Regions from separate parts of the Homo sapiens genome. Here all the other regions are linked to region 5. The links are contacts of gene promoters, found by promoter capture Hi-C in blood cells and fetal thymus (Javierre and others, 2016). All regions are on one chromosome and are shown on one strand. The core of a region is centred on a gene start or on the middle of the fragment in contact, and the rest is flanking DNA. Distances in the headings are between cores, read along the strand shown.

What was found. The method cuts DNA at HindIII sites, captures the fragments that hold promoters and counts their contacts. A CHiCAGO score of 5 or more calls a contact.
Region 1: a contact is called between the fragment with the promoter of DIPK1C here and the fragment with the promoter of C18orf63 in region 5, in 8 of 17 cell types (total CD4 T cells, naive CD4 T cells, non-activated CD4 T cells and 5 more). The highest score is 8.6, in total CD4 T cells.
Region 2: a contact is called between a fragment that was not itself captured here and the fragment with the promoter of C18orf63 in region 5, in 6 of 17 cell types (non-activated CD4 T cells, naive CD4 T cells, total CD8 T cells and 3 more). The highest score is 6.1, in non-activated CD4 T cells.
Region 3: a contact is called between a fragment that was not itself captured here and the fragment with the promoter of C18orf63 in region 5, in 1 of 17 cell types (M2 macrophages). The highest score is 5.2, in M2 macrophages.
Region 4: a fragment that was not itself captured here is called in contact with the fragment with the promoter of C18orf63 in region 5 in 3 of 17 cell types (naive CD8 T cells, naive CD4 T cells and total CD8 T cells); the score reaches 6.7 in naive CD8 T cells.

Annotation. Positions count from the first base shown.
Region 1 is chr18:74,455,989-74,458,688 of GRCh38, reverse strand. DIPK1C (divergent protein kinase domain 1C) reads left to right here and starts at 1,381. Exons shown (of 4, transcript NM_001044369.3): 1 at 1,381-1,627. The coding sequence starts at 1,430. The HindIII fragment of the contact is 3,923 bases long and covers 401-2,700 here.
Region 2 is chr18:74,476,403-74,479,102 of GRCh38, reverse strand. No RefSeq gene overlaps it. Among named protein-coding and RNA genes, the nearest start is that of CNDP2, 19 kb to the left of the region's middle. The HindIII fragment of the contact is 1,886 bases long and covers 343-2,228 here.
Region 3 is chr18:74,166,928-74,169,627 of GRCh38, reverse strand. No RefSeq gene overlaps it. Among named protein-coding and RNA genes, the nearest start is that of TIMM21, 20 kb to the right of the region's middle. The HindIII fragment of the contact is 4,386 bases long and covers 1-2,700 here.
Region 4 is chr18:74,503,919-74,506,618 of GRCh38, reverse strand. It overlaps CNDP2 (carnosine dipeptidase 2), which reads right to left. Exons shown (of 12, transcript NM_018235.3): 4 at 608-770. Among named protein-coding and RNA genes, the nearest start is that of CNDP2, 8.9 kb to the right of the region's middle. The HindIII fragment of the contact is 5,160 bases long and covers 1-2,700 here.
Region 5 is chr18:74,314,557-74,317,256 of GRCh38, reverse strand. C18orf63 (chromosome 18 open reading frame 63) reads right to left here and starts at 1,418. Exons shown (of 14, transcript NM_001174123.2): 1 at 1,148-1,418. RefSeq lists an enhancer at 1,041-1,210. The HindIII fragment of the contact is 4,843 bases long and covers 55-2,700 here.

The DNA of each region.
Region 1 (2,700 bases), core at 132-2,631, 140 kb before region 5:
CACACAGAGAGAGCTTCACCTGGCCTTACCGCTGTTGATTGAGTGACACCCAAACCCTGCTGTTGATTGAGTGACACCCAAACCCCAAGGGTCTGTTGCATTCGGGGCATATTTGTGATGTGCCCGAAGTGCTTCTTGGGGCTCAGGGTTTGTTCATCTGATGTTTGGTCATTCCTGGGGACTCCTACCACCGAGCCAGCCATAAAACAAAGTTAAAGCAGCGAGTTGCAGAAGAGACAAGGGCAAGAAGCCAGCTCCTGTGGGACAATCACAGCACGCAGTGATCAGGGCATGTTTCTATTATCTCTAAACTCGGGAACGGGTCATGTGAAATTCAGGCGCAGGGCAGGCGGGAGAGCGATCCGGGATGGGCTGGCACGTACTGGGCACTGAATAAGCTTTTGTTCAGTGAATGCAGGAGCCCCGGGCGTGGCGGCTTTCACAGCCCCTCAGCTGTGACAGTTCCCCTGGGGTGGCGCCGCCTCCCCCTATCCTGGGGAAAGGCGTTCAGGGAGTGAGAAGCATCCCTGGGTGGGGTGGGGGATGCTGGTGAGAACCAGGGACGCCCTGTGGGCCCAGGGCCAGCCTGCTTTACAGAACAATTGGGATGGGAACACGGATGCCTGCTCTCCCAGATGATACTGCGAATCTATAAATATAGACTTAGACACACGTGGTGGACGTGTTCTCCTCCCCGGGGTAACGGAGATGTTTCCAGAGAGCAGATCTTTGCAGCCCTGAGAAGGACGCCCGAGAGTTTGTGCAGCCTGGGAGACGGCGGGGGGTTTGATTCAGGGGTGCCCGTGGGAAGGGGAGGGCTGGGTCGTCCCAGAACCTACTGACTGTCCTCGACCCCCGACTCTCTGCATGCTCCGGATCTCACTCCCGGGAGGGCCCGGAGAAAACCCAAGTTGGGGTGAGACTCAGAGGGGGGCGGTTCTAGTGGAGAGGTAAACGGGGGGGGACAACGCTGCAGCCCCCTGGGGCGAGGGTGCGCTCTACAGAGCGCTGGGGGCAAGGGCACCTGGCCTCTCAGAGAAGTTGGTGGGGGAGGGCAATGTGACAATTAAAGATATGTAGTCTTGAGGAATCAGTCCCCAAAGAGAGAGGCGATTGAATCTACCCGGATTTCGTTTAAGTGGGGAGCTGGTCTTCTTGGGGGAAAAAAGTGCAAAAAGAAAAGTAGAGAGGGTGGAGCAGGGGATGCGGCGAGTGGACCCCCAGTGGGTGCTCGGGGCGCGCGGGGTGTTGCTGCTGCTGGACGCCCTCCCCGCACCTCCGCCCCAGGCGCGGGGCCTGCCCCAACCCTCGCGCGGCCCCTCCCCCGTTCCCCCTCCCCGCCGAGCGGGCCTGAGCCGCGGAGCAGCTACGCGAGTGCGGAACTCGGGGCGCGGGCGGCGGTGGGGCCCGGGCGCGGGCAGGGCTGGCCATGGCGCGGGCGGCGGGCGCGCGGGGCCCTGCCGGGTGGTGCAGGAGGCGCGGGCGCTGCGGGCGGGGCACGCTCCTCGCCTTCGCCGCGTGGACCGCGGGCTGGGTGCTGGCGGCCGCGCTGCTGCTCCGCGCGCACCCGGGTGTCCTCTCCGAGCGCTGCACCGACGAGAAGAGCCGGCGCATCCTGGCCGCGCTGGTAGGTCCCGCCGCCGCTCTGCCCCGCGCCGCGCGTCCGGGGAGGGGGGATCACACCCGCTCCCGGTCCCCAGCCTTCCCGGGGACTTGGGTGGCGGTGGCACCCGCCGGGGACATGGGTTCCCGACACCTGCGTGGAGTGCCAGAGGCGCACGCCCCGGTCCCCCGAATGGGGACGCAGCCGGCAGTGCTCTGTGGGCGCGCTGGGGGTGTCTCTCCCCTTTTCGCCAGAATTCGCCCTTTGTCCCCAGACAGCCTCTCCGTCCTACCCTCGCCACCCCTGAGCCCGAGCTCCGGAAGAAAGTTTGCGGGTCTGATCCGAGTGTCCAGGGAGGTGCCGCGTCCGGTGTCAGGCCGCCGGGCTCGGGGCGCAAGCCAGTGCGGGGTTCGGGATCCGGGGTGCCACGCCTCTGTCTCTCGGGTCCGCAGCGCTCCAGCCCAGCCCGCGTTCTGTGATTCCACCCTGAGCTGCCAGGTCACCCCCTATCTCACCGAGCCCATGCGGAGGGCTGGTCTGACCCCGGCCCCCCTGCGCTCCAGAGCCCAGGCTCTCCGCGGTCGCGGTCTGTGGGAACCGACGCAGTGTGCGCTCGGGCGAGCAGAGAGCGCTGCGGAGGCGGCTGGGACCGGGAGGATCCCGGGTCCCGGTCCTCGACAGGCGCCTCCTAACCTGGGAGGGCCCGAAAGCTCGCACCCAGCAGCTCCTCAGCTGAGCCAGAGAATTAGGGAGAGAAAGAAACATTTCGCATTTTGCAGACTGCTGCGTACGCTGGGCTCACATCATATGAATGAAACGCCCACCTTTAGTTGATTGGAAACTTGGCTAGCCGTTCTTTCAGGCGCAAAGGAGACTTCAGTAAAGGTGGGAGTCCCCTAAATCCCAGAAAGGGGAAGATAGTAGCAGCTACTCTTACATGACTTCTTAAGCGATTATTCATTTCCTAAAATAGTGACCATCTAAGCATTTGGTTTGAAAAGAGATCTATTTTCTAAAAAATCTTCAAGAAACACATGGGAAGTTTTCAGTCCAGTTGCTTACATATGGGTGGGCCTTTTGAGATTGTAGATTTTCAA
Region 2 (2,700 bases), core at 36-2,535, 160 kb before region 5:
AACCTTCATGTTGCACAAGCCTGATTCCAGCCTTGGGCTAATTAAGGAGGGTGGAGCTGCTCAGAACCATCAGGCAAAGACAGCTAAGGCACCTGGGTCCCAGCTGCTGCAGCAAATCACTGCCCAGGATATCACATGGGCCCCATTCTGGAGGCTTCTGCCATCTCCTGATTCAAGTCATGATATCTATTTCCAAAAACCGTTTAGCTCTTCGTTGTACTTAATTTGACAAAATAAAATTTAAGAAACCATCTGCGTCAGCAGTTCCACTACCGCTTTTAGCTTAGGATATTGATAACCTTCGAGAATTATCTCGGTCCATGGACAATCTCTTGGGAAGCTTTAAAGAGTACAGCCATATCCCCAGTGCCCCAGAAAGTCTAGGTGACTGGTCTGTGGTGCAGCAAGAGTGTCAAGATGCTCAAGCCGCTGGGGTGTCTCCAAGCCCGGTAGGTCTGAAATCCAGGCCTGCTTTCTGGAGCATGGTGGGCCATTAGGACGGGATGTCTGGGAAGAAGCTAGGGAACTTTCTGTGCACTCAGGGTAATGGGTCATGGGGTTCTGGGCCCATGAAGGAGCCAGGGAGGCAGCTGGGGCATGGGCGGTGGGGTTTCTTCTCCCCATCACTCCTCCTTTGCGGTGTGTTTATGAGATGTGTAAGGAAGGTTTTCCTTCTTTTAGAACTGCGGGTCCAGTGAGGCCTTGGAGTTGGGAGTTGGGTCAAGGGGCAGGAGCAGGCGGGGGCAGAAGTGGTGGGGGGAGGAGTGGGTGGGGGCAGGAGCAGGTGGGGGCAGGAGCAGGAAGGGCTGAGGCTGCAGGCAGGGCTGGGGGCCTGTGGCCAGGGGTGTGAGGACCAGGCCCAGGCAGAATTCGCTTGACCACAAGGGCGCTGCTCTGGGATGCAGTGTGGCCCCAGGCTAGGGAGGCAGCCCCTCTCCTACTTGCATCCCAGGCCAGCAGCACTCTGATGTTGCAGGGCTGTAAGCATAGGGAGCACCCAACTCAGCCTAGAGGGGATGGTGGTGCCCTCAGGTGCTGGAGCTGACAGGAGGGCCAGGAGACCTGGGGTCAGTGTGAGGCCCTGAGCCACCCCATTGGAGACACAGAACTATGGGGGACTTATGGGATGGGCAAATGTATAATGTTAAGCCGACTGGAGTGCTGCGTGGCTAGAACGTGGGCGTAGAGAGGAACTGTGTCATTACTTCTTAGTCACTGTCGGCTAAGACTGGAAACATATGGGTAACTGCTAGAGTCTGAACGTATGTATCCTCCCAAAATTCATACGGCGAAGCCTAAATCCCCAATGTGATGGTATTTGGAGGTGGAATCTTTGGGAGGTACTTAGGTTGTGAAGGTGGAGCTCTTAGGAAGGGAATTAGTGTCCCTATAAGGGGATGAAGAGATCAGAGCGCTCTCTCTTCACCAGGTGAAGATACAACAAGAAGGCGGCCATCCATAAAACAGGAAAAGAGTCCCCACCAGAGCCAGGCCACGCTGGCACCCTGATCTCAGACTTCCAGTCCCCAGAACTTTCAGAAATTAATGTTTGTTGTTTAAGCCACCTAGTTTGTGGCATTCTTTTAGAGCAGCCTGAACTACGGCAGAAATATTAACATAAACTTATCTTGCAATTTGGTGGCTTAAAAATTCCCTCAGTACAACTGAAGAGAAGTTCCCAATTAAAGATTTTACTGAACAGACGGGCTCAGTTGTTAAATGCTGCTGGGAACCCTGAATAAAGTTTTATTTCTCTTTAAAACACATGTTTCCTATTGGATGAACATGGGCAAGAAAAATTAAGTCATGAATTCAGGCAGGTAACCTGGTCATGGATTATTATTCAGGGTTTCAAGCTGTGAACAGTTGTTGTCACTCACAATTCAGGTGTCACTTTTCACTGTGCTTCTGAAAAGAAAAACAAATGAATCAGAGCTTGGCTTTATGGGCATGAGGAACTCATCCTTAAATTAGCCCACAGTGGGATTTCAGCTGAATGTTGGAAGTGTTCCAGTCTCGCCTTTAAGTCTGCTGAAAATCCACAGGAGATACTGGAAAATCCATTTGCATTTAGCACCTGTGTTTGCCTCATAACTGTATATTATTATGCTCTCTAGATGTTGAAAGTGCCTGGAGAACTTTCCTTCCTCTGGGCAAATAAAAGGCAAATAAAAGTTGTGTATACCGTATTAGCTTCCTGTAGCTACTGTAACAAATTAACATAAGCTTAGTGACTGAAAACAGGAGGAATTCATTCTCTTACAGATCTTCAGGTCAGAAGCCTAAAATCCAGGTATTGGCAGGGCTGGTTCTTTCCTGAGGCTTCAGGGGAGGATCCATGTCCTTGCTTCTTCCGGCTTCTGAAGGCCACCGCGATTCCTGGGCCTGTGGCCCCTCCTTCCATCTTCAAAGTGCATCACCCAACCCCTGGCTGCATCCTCACACCTACTTTTTCTGACTTTGACCTTTTGGCCTCCCTTTATTCTAAGGGATCTTCTGATTACAGTATTGGGTCCACCCAGATGATCCAGGATAGTCTCCCATCTCAAGATCCTTCACTTAATCACCTCTGCAAAGACTCCTTTGCCATATAAGGTAACATATTCACAGGTTACAGATATTAGGACATAAGCATCTTTGAGGAGGAGGGGGTCACTATTCAGGCCCCCACACTGTGAGGTATTAGTGGAAAAGTCTGGG
Region 3 (2,700 bases), core at 99-2,598, 150 kb after region 5:
TTTATGTTGCTTATGCAAGACCACTTTTGTATGCAACGGGACACATCCGTAATTTTTGCAGCCTCCTATCTCTCATGGCTGGCACTCCAGGAATTTGGTAGCTTTCTCAGTCACTTTTTGAATAATGCATTGCTTGGGTATTAGAACTATAGGTACTTATAAGGTTTAGATTTAACACATTTTTTTTTTTCTGAGAACTTATTAACATCCAAATACTGTAGTAACTGGAGATACAGGAATTAAAATGATGCCTTCTCTATGTACAATGTAAAAGGAAGGCAAGAAACATACCGACAGTTGCGGGGTAACCATGTGCCAGCTACTGCTGAAGCCCCTTCCCTATGGCCTCATATGGTCCTTACAAAATCCCTAAGAAGTAGGTATTATTGTCCTCATTTAAGAGATGGGGAAACTGAAATGTAGGCAGGTAAAAAAACAAAAAAAACATGAAAGGCAACATTAGGTGATGTGTAAACACTCAGGATTTGAAAATCAGACATCCCTGGTTCCAGGCGTGTATGGTAAGATGACCTCGGGCCACACACTGCTGTAGCAGATGCTTTTGGTGGCCTCCTGAGGGGTGGTCTCCCACAAGGTGGGTTCACATTTCAATCTGGGAACCTGCGGATATTATCTTCTATGGTAAAATATGTGCTTAAGTTAAGGATTTTGAGAGGATGCATTAGTCCTGGGTTATAGGGGTGGGCCCTAAATTCAAGGGCATGTATTTTTGTAAGACAGACACAGAAGAGAAGACAAGTGCAGAGGAGATTATGATGTAAAGATGGAGGCAGAGACGGGGGTGATGTGGCCACAAGCCTCGGAATGCCGATAATTTTTAGAAAATTTGATTATCATTCCTATAGACATATTACTTCCCCAATTTTTTAATAAATTAAATAGAGAGACCATAGAAAATCCCGAAAGGGCTTCCCATGGATGTTGATGAAAATAATGCTAAATATTATGTTAAAGTAAAGAGCTAACATTAGCTAGAGTATTTCTGAATAAGAAGAGTAGGGAGAGTGACTTTCTCTTACTAGGTATCAGCATCTACTATGAAGCTATGTAGTAAATAGATAAGTGCAGTATTGGTATTAGCAAAAATTAACCAATAGAATGAAAGAGAGCCAAAAAATAGACCTGTACACATATGGGATTTCGGTGTATGACAGACGTAGATGTCAGTTCAGTAAATGGAGCTGGAATGCATGGTCATCCATACGGAAAACATAAAGTTGGATCACTACTTCATACTCTTAAAATAAAAATAATCAACTCCAGATGAATTAATGACTTAATATCAAAAACAAAACTTAAAATGGTTAATAGACAATGGAGATGAATATCCTTTCAATCTTGGTTTAGACTCCTTACACAAAAACTTGAGAAAGAGTACCTACATAAGACACAGTACCTTTTTACTTTAAAAGAAAAGATACACTTGATCTTGACTTTATTATCGTTAAAAACATTTGATCATCCAAAGATATCATATATAAAGCAAAATAGCAAGTTTAAAACTTGGAGATAGTCTTTTATGCACACAACCAATGGAATATTACTATCAAATATATAAAAACCTTCTTACAAATTAATAAGAAAATAGAGGCCAGGCATGGTGGCTCATGCCTGTAATTCCAACACTTTGGGAGGCCAAGGCAGGTGGATCACTTGAGGTCAGGAGTTTGAGACCAGCCTGGCTAATATGGTGAAACCCTGTCTCTACTAAAAATACAAAAATTATCAGGGAGTGGTAGTGGGCACCTGTAATCCCAGCTACTTGGGAGGCAGAGGCAGGAGAATCGTTTGAGCCTGGGAGGAGGAGGTTGTAGTGAGCCCAGATCATGCCACTGCACCTCCAGCCTGGGCAACAGAGTGAGACTTGGTCTCAAAAAAACAAAAACAAACAAATAAACAAACACAAAGAAAACAGAAAAATACCAATAAAAGCACATGCAAAAGACATGAACAGGCATTTGTCCAGAAGAAGGAACACGTAAACCACATAAAAATGTTCATTAATGATTAGTGAATGGGAGTCAAGACCACCAAGAGACCCCTTTTACACCATGTGGCTGGCAAATATGAACAAGACTGACAGTCACAGGGTAGGGCAGGATGCGACGCCACAGGGTTTCTTACAATGCACGGCTGGAAGTCACGCTGCTACAATCACTTACAACTTCTTAAAGTTAGCTGCCATAACAGAATACCACTGGCTTGGGGGATTAAACAACAGACGTTTATTTTCCCACAGTCCTGGAGGCTGAAAGTCCAAGATCAAGGTGTCAGCAGGGTGGGTTTCTCCTGAGATCTCTCCTCGGCTTGCAGATGTCCACCTTCTTGCAGTGTCCTCACATGCTACTTCCTCTGTGCAAATGCCTCCCTGGTGTCTCTGTGTGCCCAGATTTCCTTTCATTATAAGGACAAATCAAATTGGATGAGGGCCCTCCACCCTCATTATAACTTAATCACCCCTTTAAAAGCCCTATCCTCAAATTCAGCTACATTCAGAGGTGCTGGGGTTGGGAGGTTTCATCACAGGGGTTTTGGAGGCCAGAGGGAGACATAGTTCAGTCTGTAACAGGAGGCATCAGCCTCTGCTACCCTTAGCTTTCCCCTCTCTTCTTTCCATGGTTCTGTCCTTGTTTCTTCCTTCTTCCTTTCTGGCCTGTCCATCCATCCAGCTGTCTATTA
Region 4 (2,700 bases), core at 13-2,512, 190 kb before region 5:
CAGGAAGGCCCTGCCTGGATTCCAAATGTGCATTCTGAGAAAAAGCATCAGCAGTAGAGGAAGCCTGGCAGACGCCAGCCACGGGGGGCTCATTTGCACAGGAAAAGGCAGGCTTTCTGGAAGTTCAGCAACAGAGGCACCTGTAAGAAACCTCCATTTCTAGCTTACGTTAAAAACAGTCTGTGCCCGGCGTGGTGGCTCAAGCCTGTAATCCCAGCACTTTGGGAGGCTGAGGTGGGGGGGATCACTTGAGGTCAGGAGATCAAGACCAGCCTGGCCAGCATGGTGAAACCCCGTCTCTACTAAAAATAAAAAAACTAGCCAGGCGTGGTGATGGGCGCCCGTAATCCCAGCTACTGGGGAGGCTGAGGCAGGAGAATCGCTTGAACCCCGGGAGGCGGAGGTTGCAGTGAATTGAGATCTTGCCATTGCCCTCCAGCCTGAGCTACAGAGTGAGACTCTGTCTCAAAAAAAGATTTTTAAAAAGTAATAAAATAAATAAAATAAAATAAAAACAGTCTGTACTGGAAACAGAAAAACGGACTAGCAATGACTTTCCAAAAGTCAGTGCCTTTCCTCTGGGCACGCATAGGCGCGCGGCGCTCACCGTCTCGCTCCACCAGGGTGAAGGGCTCGCTGTCCCAGCCGTCCTCCAGGGCTGCAGGCTGCACATCCAGGTGCCCGTAAATGCACACGGTCTTCTTCTGTGGGTCGGAGCCCAGCCTGCCGAGCAGAATAGGAGGGAGCGGGATCTCCGAGCCATCAGGGAGCTGAGCATGGAGAGGAAAGGAACCAAGGACAGCCTTTGTTTAAGAAATTCAGTGCTTAAGGTGGAGATTATTAAAAGACCTTGAGCTTCCTTATCTGTCCTTATCAATCAACCTCTATTGTAGAGTTTAAGAGCACACTGTTCAATGGAGTCACTAATTAAGATTTACTTTCTTACTTTCTTGTACTCCAGAGCACATGTACATGTTTGCCAATTGCAGGCAGTTTGGTAAATTTTTTTTTTTTTTTTTTGAGACAGAATCTTGCTCTGTCACCCAGGCTGGAGCGCAGTGGCGTGATCCCAGCTCATTGCAACCTCTGCCTCCCAGGCTCAAGCGATTCTTAGGTCTCAACCGCCCAAGTAGCTGGGATTACAGGTGCCGGCCACCATGCCTGGTTAATTTTTTGTATTTTAGTAGAGACAGGGTTTCACTGTTGCCCGCACGGTGGTCTCGAATTCCTGAGTTCAGGCAAACCACCCACCTCGGCTTTCCAAAGTGCTAGAATTACAAGCATGAGCCACTGCACCTGGCTGGATTTGGTAAATTCTTAAAGGCTGGTTTTTCTTTGACTTTTATATAACAAAACACGCAGGCTGAGTTCGGGATGCAACTTAGTTTATTATTTTCTGAAATGATGGTTAAAATAAACTATAATCTTAAATCAGAAGAGGTATTTTTGAAATTCTGTACATTGATTACAATTATGCATGGAAAATGCCATAAACCAAGATATATATAAAAAAATCTTTATACCTAAATTCACATTTAGCCATTCTAAAAAGTTAGTGATAGCAGGTACGCCTTCTGAGCTTTGTCCCAGAAGCACTACCAATATTCCACAATCCCATAGGAATGGAGAATGGGACAGGCATCCCAGCCCACCCCTGCATCTAAATGGAGGCAAATCAATCTTAGGTCTTTTCCAGTTTTCACATCAGGTCAGTGGTCTCCACCTTTTACTTTAGACTATGGCCTACTCAGGCTGTGCAAAACTCCTGTGGCCATGTAGCTCCTCTACCAGTGCCTATATTCCAATAGGAAAATACCCCATGATCATCACAAAGTGTCACAAGCAAGTGGCAGGAGATGCTTTTAGCTGTAGGAGGAAGAGACTGTTCATACTAAAACATGACATACATATATATTAGTCTAGTTGCTAGAAAATACTGTTCATGAAAATAGGTATTAACAGACACAACGCAAAAACTAAATTGATAATGAAGTTAAATTAACAGTTTGCAATTAAGAGGTAAAATGAGCAGTCACTGAAATGACAACTGGATCAGGACAGTGCTGGTGATAGGCTGAGAAAAGTGTCCCTTCCAAACTGCAGGGCCTCCAGCTCTAAGTGTACAAGCACTTTACGAAACTGGGCAGGTGGCTGGGATTCTTATGGGATCCAGGATTTGTGTTCCCAGTAATTTAAGTAACCCCTGCAACCTGAAGGCTGCTAGTGTGCTGCGTGTGGCCTGACGCCCCTCATTTGTCCCAGCGGCAGTGTGGCTGCGTGTGCAGTGTATGGCCTGACGCCCCTCATTTGTCCCAGTGGCAGTGTGGCTGCGTGTGCAGTGTATGGCCTGACGCCCATCATTTGTCCCAGCGGCACTGTGGCTGCGTGTGTGGCGTGTGGCCTGACGCCCCTCATTTGTCCCAGTGGCAGTGTGGCTGCGTGTGCAGTGTATGGCCTGACGCCCCTCATTTGTCCCAGCGGCAGTGTGGCTGCGTGTGTGGCGTGTGGCCTGACGCCCCTCATTTGTCCCAGCGGCACTGTGGCTGCGTGTGCAGTGTATGGCCTGACGCCCATCATTTGTCCCAGCAGCAGTGTGGCTGCGTGTGCAGTGTATGGCCTGACGCCCCTCATTTGTCCCAGCGGCAGTGTGGCTGCGTGTGCAGTGTATGGCCTGACGCCCCTCATTTGTCCCAGCGGCAG
Region 5 (2,700 bases), core at 169-2,668:
TTTTACTACAGTAACAAAAACTGGAATATAAAAGTAAAGCAACCCAGTGAAGCTTCAGTACACTAACATGCACAAATACATTAGGGAAAAGTAAGCTGGACTCTAGTACTTTCAACTTTTCAACATCAACATGCTTTTTCTTTTTAAGAAAGAATAATATACTGGCCCGGGAATGTGCAGTGTGACCAGCCTTCTGATCACAGTACTGAAATGAGTTTGTGGTGTCATCTGAGGAATGCTGGCAATGCCAGCAGGAATGTAATACAGTAGGAATGTAAATTCCAGGTCACCAAAAAATTCCTGGGTGCAAGTCCTCCCGTTTTGCCAATCTTCAAATACTCACGGATTGCAACACTGTATGTAAACAAGAGTGATCTGTTCAGGGATAAGCATGAATTTATTAGAATTATTACTATTGTTTAATTTTGTGAGTTCCTAGTTGGCAAAACTTGCAGATTCAAAAAGAATGTTGTTTTCTTTGGCTAGGCTGTAGAACTATATTGTGAAGCTCAAAACGTGGGCCAAGCCTTATTATGATCTACGGATGCGCTATTAACATCCTGTCCAGGGAGTCGCTCCACTACGTTTCTGTCCCAGGATTTCATCTTTATTCCCAATCCCCAGCAGGGCAAGGAACAAGTGCTAGGAGCAGGCAACAGGCACCTACGCAATTCTACACGTGAGGGAGGACTCAGAGAACCCCAAAGGACCAAAACTCTGGGAGCGCCCAGCTCCTGCAGTGCTGTGCGCTAAGCCTCGGGACCGCCGCTACGAGGGACCCTTCCTAAAAATCCTCCCGGGGCGCGGGGTTCAGGGCGGCCCCAGACCCGGCTTGCCGCTGCCCCCAGGCGAGCGCCCACCCCTCTTCCGGCCTGGCTTCTGTGAGAACAGTAATGGACGTGAGTGGAAACGAATCTAAGGTCTTTGTTCAGCTAAATCCATTTTAAAAGGTGATTCTATAAATTTCCGATATAATGAAATGCCCGAAAAATTGGGACTCATGGGTCTTTGCAGATGAATACATTTTTTTCCTGACCCAAACCAACGTCCTCAGGGTGCCGGCGCCGGCACCGGGATCCTGCCCTCATGGCGGCCCTGACCTGCTCCTCCGCAACCGTGGGGAAGAGAATCAGGAAAATGGTCTTACAAACTGGAAAAGCAACACTTCTAACGCCCACGGCCTCCTGCACTGCAGATGCGTCAGGCGTCTCCTCAGGGGGAGGAAAGGGCGGGTGGGCGGCAGGGCCTCCAGCAGTCTCCCTCGCTTCCGCTCTGCCTCCTTCAAGCAGCTGCCCCCCAAGGCCAGGCCTCTTGGTCTCTGTGGGGCGTCGATTGAGAGCCCGCGTGCCTCAGCTCCCTCCTCGCTGCCCTCAGGAGACGCTCCCGGCTCGCCCCGCGTGCCCTGCCTTCATCGGAGTGTCCCCTCGTGCCCTCCTCACAGCCCTCGGGAGCCAATCCCAGTATTTCCCGCGCTCTCCCAGCGTTCCCTGCGCTCTCCCAGCATGCCCTGCAAGCCTTGCGCTCCTGGCACGCAATGTAGGTCAACTTTTCCCGCCAAGGCAGGAACCGACCAAAGCTGGTCACGGATGACCCAGTGAAGCCCTGTGAGATTCTCTCAGCCTGAGCTGGTGTGGGTGGGGCCGGGACACAAGGTTCTGGCCGCCCTCGAAGGCGGGAAAGCTGGGTCAGCGCAACACGTCCAACGGGGAGCTCCGGCGCTGAAGCCCCGGCTAACTGCGTGCTGCACAGGGGCTACCCAGCCTCTTGCCTCGGCACGTTTCTCCTCAGATTCTCATGCCCGAATTTACAGCTTCTGCAGTTCCTTTAGTGGTGGGAATCTCCATGACTGGAACATCTTCATGCCTGGTGTGGAGGGGAAGCGTGGTGCAAGCTCGTGGGAGTAAATCCACGAAGCGCCTACTGTGTGCAGATGCGTTTCTAAGGTCTGCTGATAGAGCACTAAGCAAACAGCATTCCCGGTCCTTGTGGGATGCACATTTTACTTGGTAGTTGGGGGAAAACAGATACGCAAGATAAATGTGCAAAATCTTAGTGTGGCAGATGGTGATAGGTGCATTGGAGAAAAATTAAGTAGGGTAGGGAGGCGGGGAGTGCCGAGGAGAAGTCGTTAGGTTTAATAGCGTGGTCAGGAAGGCCTCGTGGAGAACGGGACGTTTGAGAAAGACATGAAGGCGGTGAGAGTGGGCAGCCTCGTGCATGTCTCGGGGGAGAATGTTTGTTACGAGAGAGGGAATCCTACAAAAGGCCAGGGCAGGAGGGACGCCAGCTGGCTGCAGTAGAGCAGGAAAGAAGTGGCTCCGTGAGGCAGGAGGAGTTACAGAGAGCCAGACAGGGTTAGGCCCGATAAGCCATGGAAGTATTAAAGGTGCATCCAGCCTGCTGTGCTGGAATGGACTGAAGGGGACAGGGAAAGGAAGAAAAGCAGTTAGGAGGCAATGGCAATAAGGAGAGAGGTGGCTTGGATCAGAGCAGTGGCAGTGGAGGGAATGGGATGGGATGGGATTGGATTCTGGATATATTTTGAAATTAGATTTAATAGGATTTGGATATGGATTGATGTGGGATCTGAGAGAGAGGGAGAGGAATCAAGCATCACTCCAAGGTTTTTATACTAAGAATTCAGAAGGATTGGGTTGCCATTAATTACAAAGGGGAAGACTAAGAGGAGCAAGTTTGGGG